4 separate regions of the Homo sapiens genome follow, and all the other regions are linked to region 4. Evidence: promoter capture Hi-C in human tissues and cell types (Jung and others, 2019). All regions are on one chromosome and are shown on one strand. The core of a region is centred on a gene start or on the middle of the fragment in contact, and the rest is flanking DNA. Distances in the headings are between cores, read along the strand shown. Region 1 overlaps CIMIP2C (ciliary microtubule inner protein 2C). Region 2 overlaps DPYSL5 (dihydropyrimidinase like 5). Region 3 overlaps MAPRE3 (microtubule associated protein RP/EB family member 3). Region 4 holds the start of SLC35F6 (solute carrier family 35 member F6).

Region 1 (3,258 bases), core at 32-2,531, 190 kb before region 4:
GAGAACACGGATTAGCAGAAGAAGAGACAAGTTCATTCGGGTCTGAGTGTGGACTTGAGGATGATAGTCCTCTCAGTGAGGCAGGTGCTAGGTACAGGGTGTGCAGTCAGGGGAGGTAGCAGAGGGCACTGGATCCTTAGGAGTGGGTGGCAGATCCCCAGATGGGCAACAGGGAAAATGCATCCCAGGGAAAGGAATTCCATGCAAAGGCCCAGAGGCCTGAAGAGCAAGTGGGGCCCCAGAGACTGGGAGTAACGCTGCTGGGGCCCAGGGCACCTACAGTGCAGTGATGGGCGAGAGGAGGGATGGCTCTGGTGCTGTATGGACAGCAGGCTGGAGGGGGTGATGCTCCATTTAGACCAGGGAGGAGATTGGAGATTGTCCAGGCAAGCAATGAGGGAGGCTCGCAGCAGTGGGATGGAGGAGGGCCACAGGCCAGTGGCTAAGGAGGGGCCTAAGCAGGACTTAGGGAGAGGTCAGATGTGGAGGGTGATGGAGGGTGATGGAGAAGCCATCAAGTCCCAGTTTCTGGCTTAGGTGGAGGTTGGAGGGGGCAGGGATATACTGGAGGAAGAGCAGTTTCAGTGGCGCTGAGTCTGTGGCGTGGTGGCCCAGCCTTGTGTGGATCCATTGCCAGGCATGTGGATCCATTGCCAGAATGGTGGAGGCTGGAGACCCAGAGGTAGAGAGGCTGTCATTGACATACGGGACATGTTGGAAGTCTAACACAGATGAGATCTCCCAGAAGGAATGGGTCCCTGAAAAGAGAAGAGGACCCTGGGGCAACACCATCGCCTGGGGAAGGAGCCAGACCCAGGGGCTCCCCCTGCCCTGGGACTTTCCTCAAAGCCTCACCCCAGTGGACACTTGTCATGGAGCTCCTCCAGTACCCACCCTGGGAATGGCCTTCCCTCCTTGTGGTTGATAGCACTAGAACCTTGACCATGGTCCCACTTGGGTTGGAGCTGGTTGTACCCAGGCCAGCTCAGCATGGCGCCTGACACATGCACCCCATGACTCAGTAAACACCGAGTGAGGATTGGGCTTGGGGAAGGCAGGCTGAGCACCGTGGGTCTTTGTGTTCCCAGCACTTAGTATGGTGCCAGCACACAGCAGGTTCCTGATAAATTAATGTTTCATGCCATCTGACTCTGTTTTTAAAAAATGATGTGTGTACAAAGAAGAAAGCCACAAATCACCCGAAATCCAAACACCCTGAATTATCCAGGGTCAACGTTTGGTGCATTTTATTCAGAGTTTCTCTTTATGTGTATATTCAGACGAGATCGGGCGCGCTCAGGGTGGTATGGCTGTAGACCTTATGTGTATATTCAGATAAAGGACTAGATGGAGGAGTGAATGGACGGATGGATGGATGGATATAAAGACAGACAAAAGCAACTTTATAAAAATATAATCATACCATATTTGCTATTTTAAAATGAAAAGCATGAAATTGAATCTTAATAGAACTTAACTGAAGAGAAAGAAACTGAAGTAAAATGGAAGAATAAGTAGATTTGAGATAAGTGTTAATTCATCACAAGAGATATTAGTACAAAAAGATCCCACTATAGGAGAGAGAGAGAGGATAAAAACCATCAAAGGACTAAAGCCATTATGTTGTACTTTTTTCTAACGATGTGTTTCAATTTTAGATGCCATGGGTTGACTCTGATTTAAAGAGATTCTTAGTAAGTGCACCCCCATCTCCCCTCCACCCACCCCCCAATTTTGGTTGCTTAAATTAGTTTTACTTTGACAGGTTTTATAACATTTACATTCCATTCTGTAACTAGCATTCACCTAGTTGCTATTCCTGGTTCTGCACTTCAATAGATTTGAAGCTCACCACCACTCATTCTAACAGAGGCTCTACATTACTGAGTTGGTTTTTTTTTTTTTTTCTCTTGAATCATCTCTTGATTGGCAGGATTTTGTCGCTGAACATGACTTTCAAGAAGAGCTTGTGGGTGCTTTAGTTGCTGAGCCCTTTCATGCTAGGAAAGGGTGGCTTTGTACCCCTGTGACCGCCTGGCTGGTGTGGTATTCTTGGGTTATGCTCTTTTCCCTGCGGAATGCTGTGGGTATCTTCCTTTGCCTTTCATTCTATCACTTCATCTTTTTGCTGGGGTTGGCAGCACCTGGAGATGAGCATCTCTTCCATTCCCTACATTCTGAACCACTTGAGAAAGAAGGTGAAAGAGGAATGTGGCTGTTAGAGAATGGGGTGAACACAGCCTCAGAATGAGACAGGCGCTGGGGCCGGCCTCCTCCCCACGGGCAGAGCCTGTCCATCTAACACCTAAGGCTTGGAGGGGCGGAGCAGGCTTCCTTGCTTCCGAGGAGGAGAAGGAGGGAGGGGAGAGGTGGGCCACAGGCTGCCCGATGGTTCCAGTGTGGGAGGAACCTCCCCTCCACGTGGGAGGAGCCCTCAGGATAGAGGAGGCAGCATCTCCCCATCACTTGTCTTTGACATCTTAATTTATTGAATCTATATCTTGATTAAGCTTCATCTACAGCACGAAGTGCTCTCAGGAACTTGCTTACACGTCACAGGTTAGGTTTTTTCCCAAACAAGTTTCTTCATCAGTGCGAATGTTGCAGCGGGACAGTGTGAGCCGAGGACATTGGATTTGGCAACAGCAGGACCTGATATGACCTTAATTTAGATGTAGAGGTTCACGTTTCAATGGTGGGTCTGAAGGCAGACTGAGGGAGGTCAAGGAAAGGGTGAGAGTTGAGAAATCAGGCAGAAGATGCAGCGTATTCCTTAGTGAGCTCCAGAAGGAGGGAGGGAATCTGCAATCCCGCCTTCCTCTTCGCCATCTTTAATGTCTCCTCTCTTGGCTGCTTCCCCTCTGCCTATAAACGGGCACCAGCCTTTACTGTGGAAATGTACAATCTAGGAACCACGGCTCATGCCCACTTACAGGCAGAGGGGAAGAGGCCGAGAGGGAGGGGGATATTAAAGATGACGGAAGAAGGGCAGAGGCTGAGAGAGACAGGGAGGAGTCGGATGGGACAATGAGGCCTTGGGTGAAACCAGAGCAGGAGCTCCAGACCCAGGAGTGGCGCCCAGGCCGGGAGGAAGACTCTGTCTCCTGAAGCGGCCAAGGTGACCACACAGCCTCACAGGAGAGAGAGCAAGGCACCCACCAATTCCTCCGTCTTCCCAGTTCCAGAGGAGACCTGGCCTCCGCGGGGAACTCAGGGGGCCAAGGAGGAAGGGCACTGAGGTGGTGGAGAAGAGTCAGG
Region 2 (3,084 bases), core at 544-3,043, 130 kb after region 4:
TGTTTGTTGTTGAGATTCCATGCACTTGAGCCTGGCCAACTTGGCAAAAAATAAACCAACTGTTTCCAGGAGAACAGGCTATGATCTCCAAATATCTGACATGTGCCCTTACAAGAGGTACTCCTTTAATAGATCCCCAAGGCCTTTTCATCCTGGGACACAGCCTTCCCAGAACTTCCCTGGTGACAGACAAAGTTAAATGATGAGGATGAGAGAAAATATGTTGCTCCCTTTGTTCTATTCACCGTAATTAGCTGTGTTAGGAAAATTGAGCCTTATCCTGGACATAGAGTTGCAAAATATCCCTGAAAACAAACATGGAATTGGTCTACTACTCATTGCTTTAAACCATTTTGATTGTGTTAGAGTGCAACAAGTAGATGGGGCTATTTATTCGTTTATTCACCAGTTTTGAGTATTCTGTACTGGATGCTGAGGATGGGGAGCGGGCGGAGACAAAGATGACTGATAGGACTGTCTTTGAGGACCCTACTCCATAGGTGGAGAGAGAATCTAGTGCCGTGAAGGCAATGGATCTAGTGAAGGCACAAAGAGAGTCAGAGAAAACTTTTCAGAAGAGGGGACAATTGGGCCCTGAAGAACGAGAAATTTACTGCGTATAAAAGTGGGCTTTATTTTACCTCAAGGACACACTGCAATGGCGTAATCTCCTTCCTGCTGGTCAGAGTTTGTCCTATATTTTCTAAGCCTGAATGTAAATATTTTCTGTTCAGATATCTAAGGGTCAAGAGAGTTGCATATCCTTATTATTATTATAAATCCTTATTAGAATTTATATTATAAATATAAATATAACAATTTTATATACTTATAATTATATAATTATAATTCATATTATAAATATAAATCCTTATTATTATAGATAATTCCTTACTTATTTTGGATATTAACCAAAGTGTGCCCCCTGGATGGAAATTTTAAGCAACTCACCATGACCACAGCTATCTGAGTTGCCCTCAGCACTGGCCCCATTTCCTATGTGCACCCCATTTCACTTCTCAGGTCCCTGCAGTGGCTCCCCCACATCTTCACACTCTTCTCAAATCCACTCATTCTGTACCACTCCCACGAGCTCTCAGCCCCCAGCTTTGCAGAGCAGAGAGAATGCAAACTCGCTTATATGCCTGTCTCTTCTGCATCTGCACATCACCTCCTCCTACAAGCCTTTGACTTTAACCTCTCTGTATCTCTTTCCTCTTTGGCAAGGTGGGCATAATAATACCTTCCCCACAGGATTGTTGGAGGGATCTAATCAAGCAAGCCATGTAAATTGACAAGTGAGGGCCTTGTTTGTTGAGGCCTTCTGTTAATGATGGTTGCCATTATTCTATGCTACCTCCTTCGGGAGCTCACATCAAAAATAGTCCCTTGATCTCTTAGACCTTTAATCTCTCCCTTGGCTCCTTCTTCACTCCCTGAAAAATATTAGTCCTAAAATTGATACTTTCCCTCAGCCATGCTCCTTGGGCCGTTTCTAGGCTTTCTTTACTCACAGAGATCTTGACGACTGTATACACAGTCTCCACAAACTTGCCTTCAGTCAGAGTTCATCAAAGTCTCACTGATTTCCAAAGCAGAGGTCAAGATCTTCTGTGGTCCTTGCCCCCACTTCACTGCATGGCTCCATTTAATGCTAAGGGAAGGGAGCTCTACAGAGGAGGGAGTAGTCAGTGGTGTCATATGTGGTTACTTGATGCATAATCCATTTTGAGTTCATTTTTATATAAGATTTTAGGTTTAAATTAAGGCTGGGTTTTTGGCCTATGAATATCCAACACCAATTGTTGAAAAGACTGTCCTCCCTTCATTGAATTGCTTTTGCACCTTTGTCAAAAATCAGTTGACCATAGTTGTCAAGATCATGCAGTCTTGATTACTATAGCTATGTAATATGTCTTGGAATCAAGTAGACTGATTCCTCTGACTTTATTCTTCTTTGTGGAGTTTGCTTTAGCTGTTCTAGTTCCTTTGCCAGTCCACATACATTTTGACAATAATATGCAAAAGATTTGTGCTGGGATTTTAATAGGAATTGCATTAAACATGTATGTCAATTTGGGGAGAATTGACACCATGTTGAGTCTTCCAATCCATGAACATGGTATGTCTCTCCACTTACTTAGATTGTCTTTGATTTCTTTCATTGGCATTTTGTAGTTTTCAGCATACAAGTCCTATGTGTGTTTTTTCTTTTTTTATATTGACAGATAAAATTGTATGTATTTGTTGTGTGCAACATGATGTTTTGAAGCACATACGCATTGTGGAATGACTAAATCCAGTTAATTAATAGATGAATTACCTCATATAATGAGAGGTTAGAACACTTGATAGCCATACTCAAAGCATTTTTCAAGAATACAATGTTATTATTAACTATAGTCACCATGTTGTACAATAGAGCTCTTAAACTTATTTAACTGAAATTTTGTATCTTTTCACCAACATTTCCCCAACTCCCCTTTACCCCAACTACTCCAGCCACTGATAACCACCATTCTGTTCTCTATTTCTTTTTCTTTTTTTTTTTTTTTTTTTTTTTGAGATGGCGTCTCGCTGTGTCGCCCAGGCTGAAGGGCAGTGGCATGATCTCGGCTTACTGCAACCTCTGCCTCCCCGGTTTAAGCAATTCTCTACCTCAGCCTCCCGAGTAGCTGGGATTACAAGCACCCACCACCACGCCCGGCTAGTTCTTGTATTTTTAGTAGAGACGGGGTTTCACTATCTTGGGCAGGCTGGTCTTGAACTCCTGACCTCATGACTCACCCACCTCGGCCTCCCAAAGTGCTGGGATTACAAGCATGAGCCACCGCACCCAGCCTCTGTTCTCTATTTCTATGGATCAACTTTTTTAGGTTCCACGTAGGAGTGAGAGCATGTGGTATTTGTCTTTCTGTGCTTGGCTTATTTTACTTAACCTGATGTTCTCCAGATTTATCCAAGTTATTACACATGACAGGACCTCCCCCTTTTTTATGGCTGAGCAGTATTCTATTGTGTGTATATACATCTTTTTCATCCATTCATCCATTGATGGGCACTTAGGTTGATTCCATATATTGG
Region 3 (2,971 bases), core at 281-2,780, 230 kb after region 4:
CTTGATCCTCCCCACTCAGCCTCCCGAATAACTGGGAATACAGGTGTGCACCACCTTGCCCCACTAATCTTTTTTATTTTTAGTAGAGATGAAGGCCTCACTATGTTGCCCACACTGGTCTTGAATTCCTGGGCTCAAGCGATATTCCTGCCTCATCTCCCAAAGTGCTGGGATTACAGGTGTGAGCCATCACACCCAGCCAACAGGAGTTTTCTTAACTAGCAGAGACTAACCATACAAGGTTTCCTTGTTAAACCCTTCACCAGGGCCGGGCGCGGTGGTTTAAGCCTGTAATCCCATCACTTTGGGAGGCTGAGGCGGGCAGATCATGAGGTCAGGAGATCGAGACCACAGTGAAACCCCGTCTCTACTAAAAATACAAAAAATTAGCCGGGCGCCGTGGTGGGCGCCTGTAGTCCCAGCTACTCGGGAGGCTGAGGCAGGAGAATGGCGTGAACCTGAGAATGGCGTGAACCTGGGAGGCGGAGCTTGCAGTGGGCCAAGATCACACCTCTGCATTCCAACCTGGGCGACAGAGCGAGACTCCATCCCAAAATAAATAGATAAATAAATAAATAAATAAAAATAAACCCTTCACCTGAGGAACAGAAAAATACCTGGAGGGAAAGTATCTAGTGAAGAAACGGCTCTCACTTTCCAGGGGATCTTCAAGAGAGAAAAGACAAGCCCATTAGCAGAGAAATTAAAGTCAAGTTGTGAAGTAAGCATTTAAAATATTTTTATTCTATTTTGAACTAGTGTAGATATCTGGAGACCAAAGTTGTAAAATACATGATATGTGATCCCTGACTTCAAGGCACTTATCTTTTTGGGAAGATATTTGAAAAAAAAATTAAATGGCAATAGTAGAAATTAGCAGTCCCCAACCTTTTTGGCACCAAGGTTTTGTGGAAGACAGTTTTTCCATGGATGGGGTAGAGGGTGGGGGTTGGTTTCAGAATGAAATTTCCACCTCAGATCATCAGGCATTACTTAGATCAAGCTTGTCCAATCCGCAGCCCATGGGTCGCATGCAGCCCAGGACAGCTTTGAATGTGGCCCAACACAAATTTGTAAACTTTCTTAAAACATGGAGTTTTTTTGTGATTTTTTTTTTTAGCTCATGAGCTGTCCTTTGTGTTAGCGTATGTTATGTGTGGCCCAAGACAATTCTTCTTCCCGTGTGACCCAGGGAAGCCCAAAGATTGGACAGCCCTGAGTTAGATCCTCATACAGAACACGCAGCCTAGATTCCTCAAATGCACAGTTCACAATAGGGTTTGCGCTTCTGTGAGGATCTGGTGCCGCCGCTGATCTGACAGGAGGTGGAGCTCAGGCGGGAATGCTCGCTGTTGCTGTGCAGCCTGGTTCCTAACATTCCACGGACCCGTACTAGTCCACAGCCTGGGGGTTGGGAATCCCTGGTAGAAAGGATAGTTTGGTAATCCCTGGTAGAAAGGATAGTTTGGTAACTTAAATGTTGTGTAGCAGGGTACATATATGCTTAATCCTCAAGTGAATTATGTAAACTCAATATTCACTAAATGTAGAGGAGTAAGGAATTGCTGAAGGCTAGAGAGGTCAACGAAGACAGAATAATAGAATTGTTGCATCTATTAGAAGGGACCTTAAGAAGTCATCTAAACATAAAATCTCAGCTAGTCCAGCCTTCAGTCTGGTTCTTGACCCCGATAGGGCATGCCCACAGGGTGTCATCAGCTTGAAGACCTGCCATGGTGGGACCTCACCCTTTCCTGGGGTAGACATGCTGCCTTTAACCATGTTAAAGCTGTCAGTTAACTGCTTTAACTGAAGCAGTACTGGGAATGTTTGTCTTCAGTGGGTCAACATCTGTTTTTCTGTATCTTCAACACTTTGGTCACAGTTTTACAAACGCTGTGGTCACAGAAAATAAGTGTAATCCCTATTCTTCCTCTGGGCCCTTAAGTCATTAAAGGCAGTTCTCATGTCATGCTGAGTTTTTCTTCTGTCTCTAAGCTAACCCCTTAGTTTCTCCACCAGGTCCTTGGCTGACCGAGATTGGAGCATATCCACTCCACTCACTGTCATGGTCTTTCTCTTTAAACAGGCCTGCTTGTGAATGTTATTCTAAAAGTTTGCTGCACAGAACTGAAGTCAGTATTACAGGTGTCATCTGACAAGCCCAGAGGGGAGGAATATTATCACTTTCCTCATTCTAGAAGAAGGACTTTATAACCAGATATCTAGTTTCAAATCAGTTCTGTTCTCACTGGCTGTGTTACCTTGAGCATGTTACCTAAGCTCTCTGAGCCTCAGTTCAGTTCTGCTAATATCTGAGAACATTCTATGTGCTGGACACCATGCCATACAATAGGGCTGAAAAAAATCCCAGCCCTGGGGAAGCTCCTAGTGACGTGGAAGAAATAGACATACTTCTGTGTTAGAAGTATCTCCACACAGTATTACAGAAGTACCCAGAAGGCTAGGCTAACCCAGCCCAGAGGAACAGGCTGGGAGTCAGGAAAAACTTTCCAGGGGAGTTGACACTGGAGAGAGTACATGCCAGTGTAAAATCCTTATGTCTTTTGCACACAGTTTTGCAAACCTTATATCTTCTGCCAAATATCTTCCATTTGTTTTTTAAGATACAAATGCAGAACCTAGTATGTGTTTATTTGGAGTGGTTTAGCTTCTTCCTATAGCCTGTCACAGCACTTTGGAATCCTGATTCTGTCAGCTAGTGCTCACAGAAATGGTGGGACATGAGCTTGGCCTTGAAAGGAGGAGAGCATTCCAGTACAAGCCAAGGCGGGGAGGGATTCAGTATTAGGGAGACTGGCAGGAGGAAGAACAACAGTCTGACTGAAGTGAGGGGCTTGGGGTTGGAGACATCAGAGAAAGGGTTTGGGGAAGAAGGAAGTGGAATTGATCCTACAGATGTTTGGTCTTGATCCTACAGAATAGAGATATAGAGAGCCATTGGTGCTTA
Region 4 (3,052 bases), core at 400-2,899:
CTGCAAATCTGTCTTTTGTGGGGGAAAATTTGCATCTGTAAAGAATCTCTATTACCGGCCGGGCGTGGCGGATCACGCCTGTAATCCCAGCACTTTGGGAGGCCGAGGCAGGTGGATCAGGAGTTCAAGACCAGCCTGGCCAACATGGTGAGACCCCCCCCATCTCTACTAGAAATACAAAATTTAGCCAGGCGTGGTGGCAGGCACCTGTAGTCCCAGCTACTTGGGAGGCTGAGGCAGAGAACTGATTGAATCCGGGAGGTGGAGGTTGCAGTGAGCCGAGATCGCACCACTGCACTCCAGCCTGGGCGACAGAGCAAGACTCCGTCTCAAAAAAAAACAAAAATCTCTATTAACATAGATAGATATTTTTCCCGTTTCCTGCCCCACCCTCTCCCCTCCTCCCGGCTTTGAGTTGTCCTACCTTTCTGGACCAAACCAATGTATTTCTTAAATGTATTTGATTGATGTCTCGTGTCTTTCTAAAATGCTGCGCCCCGACCACTTTGGGCACATGTTCTCAGGACCTCCTGAGGGCTGTGTCACGGGCCATGGTCACAAATATTTGGCTCAGAATAAATCCCTTCAAATATTTTAGAGTGTGACTCTTCGTCAACACCCTCTTCAAACAAACCTAGGGATGGTCTTTCTGCCTGGATGCCTCAGCTGCGACCAGAAAGTCCACAAAGGAGCAGTGAAGCAGGGCTTGGTGCAGAGGCCATGCGGAAGGCACGGATTTTTGGAGACTGGAGAACCCAAGCGCAAATCCCTACCCCACTGCTCACCAGCAGGTTCTTAAGCAAATCACTCTGCTTCGCTGAATTTACTGTCCTCAGCTATAAAATGGTGTCCTCGGCAACTGGAGCTAGATGCCTTCGCCACTTTGCTGAAAGATATGAACTGTGCCCAAGGTGGGCGGTATCAGATAGGAGCCCCGAAGTGGAAACGTCCAGCGTGGGAATCTCCTCTCTACAGGGTCCCCAAGGAACTCCCGGCAGGCCCACTTCAGGGCTCCTTTCTGACACCGCCCAGCTCAACCTCTCAAAACGATTCACAAAATGCTGTAATAGCCACGATGCACCCTCACTGCACTGTCCCATCCGCCCCTTTTACAAATAGGAAGACCCAAAGATAAAAATAAGAAACCAAGGCCAGGCGCGGTGGTTCACGCCTGTAATCCCAATACTTTGGGATGCGGAGGAGGGCGGATCACCTGAGGTCGGGAGTTCGAGACCAGCCTGGCCAACATGGTGAAGCCCTGTCTCTACTAAAAATACAAAAAATTAGCCGGGCGTGGTGAAGGGCGCCTGTAATCCGAGCTACTCGGGAGGCTGAAGCAGGAGAATCGCTTGAACCCAGGAGGCGGATATTGCAGTGAGCCGAGATCATGCCATTGCACTCCAGCCTGGGCGACAGAGTGAGACTCCTTCTCAAAAAAATAGAAAAAAGAAACCCAAAAAGGCGGGGGAGAGTGAGGAAGAAAAGAAAAAAAAAACTGGAAGGCCTGGGCCGTGATTTGCCAGGGCCACGGCGTGGCCACCAAAGCGCTCCAGGACGACTCGGCAGAGCGCGGGCACCGTGGCTCAGGCGCGCTCCCCGGGGGCGGGGCGAGCAGGAGGGGTCACGTGACGCCCGGCCCGGAAGCGCTCGCGCAGGAGACCCCGGGTGACGGGGCCCGGCGCCGCTAACTGGAGCGAACCCCAGCGTCCGCCGACATGGCCTGGACCAAGTACCAGCTGTTCCTGGCCGGGCTCATGCTTGTTACCGGCTCCATCAACACGCTCTCGGCAAAGTGAGTCTGGGCCCTGCCGGGCGTGCGGGCCCTGGCGACCCCGGCGCTCGTTCTACGCCTTCCCCCTTCTTGGCCCTGCCCTCCTGGCTTCCCCTGCTTTCCCACTTGCTCCGGTCAGTTCGCGCGCGTTATGACCACCCAAGGGATGCGAGGCCCGGGGAAATGCGGAGCGGGGCTGCGCCCCGGACGGGGGGATCCGAGCCCCGGCTTTGATTTGCTGTACAGCCTCCGCTCCTGTTTCCACGTCTTTTAACAGGAGGGTTGGCCGATTCCTTTCCACGGCCCTTCCAGTGCTGGCGTCCAAGCCTGAGCACCTCCCTCCACGAGCTGGGAGAGACCCCTGGACTTGTGCACATGAGCCGCAGTAGTGGCTGTGCAGGCCGAGTGACCCAGTGAGCGTGGAGGCCTCAAGCGGCAGACAGGGAGGTGCCCCACGGCCCCTCAAGGATGAGGGGTTAGAGCTGTGCTTTGAAGCTTAGGTGGGATTTCGGAATGTGTCTGAGACTGTAAGTCAAGGAAAGTCTACGGAAAGGCCAGATCAAAGTCGATTGTAACCAGCATCAAATGCCCAGGTTAGATTTTCTCTCATAATCAGAAAAGTGCTTTTGAGCTGGGGAATGACATGTTGAAAGTGATATGATTGACTCAATGACATGAGGAGTGGTTTGGTGCAGGAAAAACCACTCCAAGGCTGCTGCATAGCAGATGAGGGGAACTAGGAGGTGGCAGTGAGAAGAGAAAGGAAGGGACAACTGGTGGCAGAGACCAGGTGTGAATGGCCACAGGCCTGACCCACATGAGCAAGAAACAAGGATCACTCCAGGGTTTCTGCCTGGGAGAAGAAAAGTGCCATTAACTCAGACAGAGAGGGCAAGTGGCCAGTTCAGCTCTGATGTATGGGGGTGAGAGGGGGGACAGTTCCCAGGAGGTTAGGGACTAAGGACCCAGGCAGTCATGAGACTGAGGGACAGGGCCTAGCCTCCCCTCTGTTGTGGGCAGGATGGCATTTCTTTGTCTCTCTCTGTCTCCATCTCAGGGCAGGGCCTTCCTGCCCCTCCTTTTCTTGTTGCCCAGGCTGGAGTGCAATGGCACGATCCCATGTATAAGGTACCTACGGTGTGTAAGGGAAGGGGACAGAAGTGACCAAGAGGCGATCTCTGCCTTTGAGATGCTTGGAATCTGAGGTGGAGGAGACAGACGTGTACGCACACGACAGTCACAGTGTTCTCCCTTCCCCAAACGGTGGGCACAGTCAGTGGA

Evidence for each region. Contacts are between HindIII fragments. The study calls those that stand out against the background at their distance.
Region 1: a fragment that was not itself captured here is called in contact with the fragment with the promoter of SLC35F6 in region 4 in 2 of the 25 tissues and cell types used here (liver and neural progenitor cells).
Region 2: a fragment that was not itself captured here is called in contact with the fragment with the promoter of SLC35F6 in region 4 in 3 of the 25 tissues and cell types used here (liver, mesendoderm cells and thymus).
Region 3: a contact is called between a fragment that was not itself captured here and the fragment with the promoter of SLC35F6 in region 4, in 2 of the 25 tissues and cell types used here (heart right ventricle and mesendoderm cells).

The regions. Positions count from the first base shown.
Region 1 is chr2:26,570,458-26,573,715 of GRCh38, forward strand. All of the region lies in intron 1 of CIMIP2C (ciliary microtubule inner protein 2C), which reads left to right. Among named protein-coding and RNA genes, the nearest start is that of CIMIP2C, 9.5 kb to the left of the region's middle. The HindIII fragment of the contact is 4,458 bases long and covers 1-3,258 here.
Region 2 is chr2:26,893,236-26,896,319 of GRCh38, forward strand. All of the region lies in intron 1 of DPYSL5 (dihydropyrimidinase like 5), which reads left to right. Among named protein-coding and RNA genes, the nearest start is that of DPYSL5, 47 kb to the left of the region's middle. The HindIII fragment of the contact is 5,689 bases long and covers 1-3,084 here.
Region 3 is chr2:26,996,255-26,999,225 of GRCh38, forward strand. All of the region lies in intron 1 of MAPRE3 (microtubule associated protein RP/EB family member 3), which reads left to right. MAPRE3-AS1 (MAPRE3 antisense RNA 1) reads right to left here. Exons shown (of 6, transcript NR_149018.1): 2 at 618-666. Among named protein-coding and RNA genes, the nearest start is that of MAPRE3-AS1, 17 kb to the right of the region's middle. The HindIII fragment of the contact is 9,878 bases long and covers 1-2,971 here.
Region 4 is chr2:26,762,635-26,765,686 of GRCh38, forward strand. SLC35F6 (solute carrier family 35 member F6) reads left to right here and starts at 1,650. Exons shown (of 6, transcript NM_017877.4): 1 at 1,650-1,792. The coding sequence starts at 1,716. RefSeq lists an enhancer at 1,307-1,506 and a silencer at 1,517-1,826. The HindIII fragment of the contact is 8,469 bases long and covers 1-2,834 here.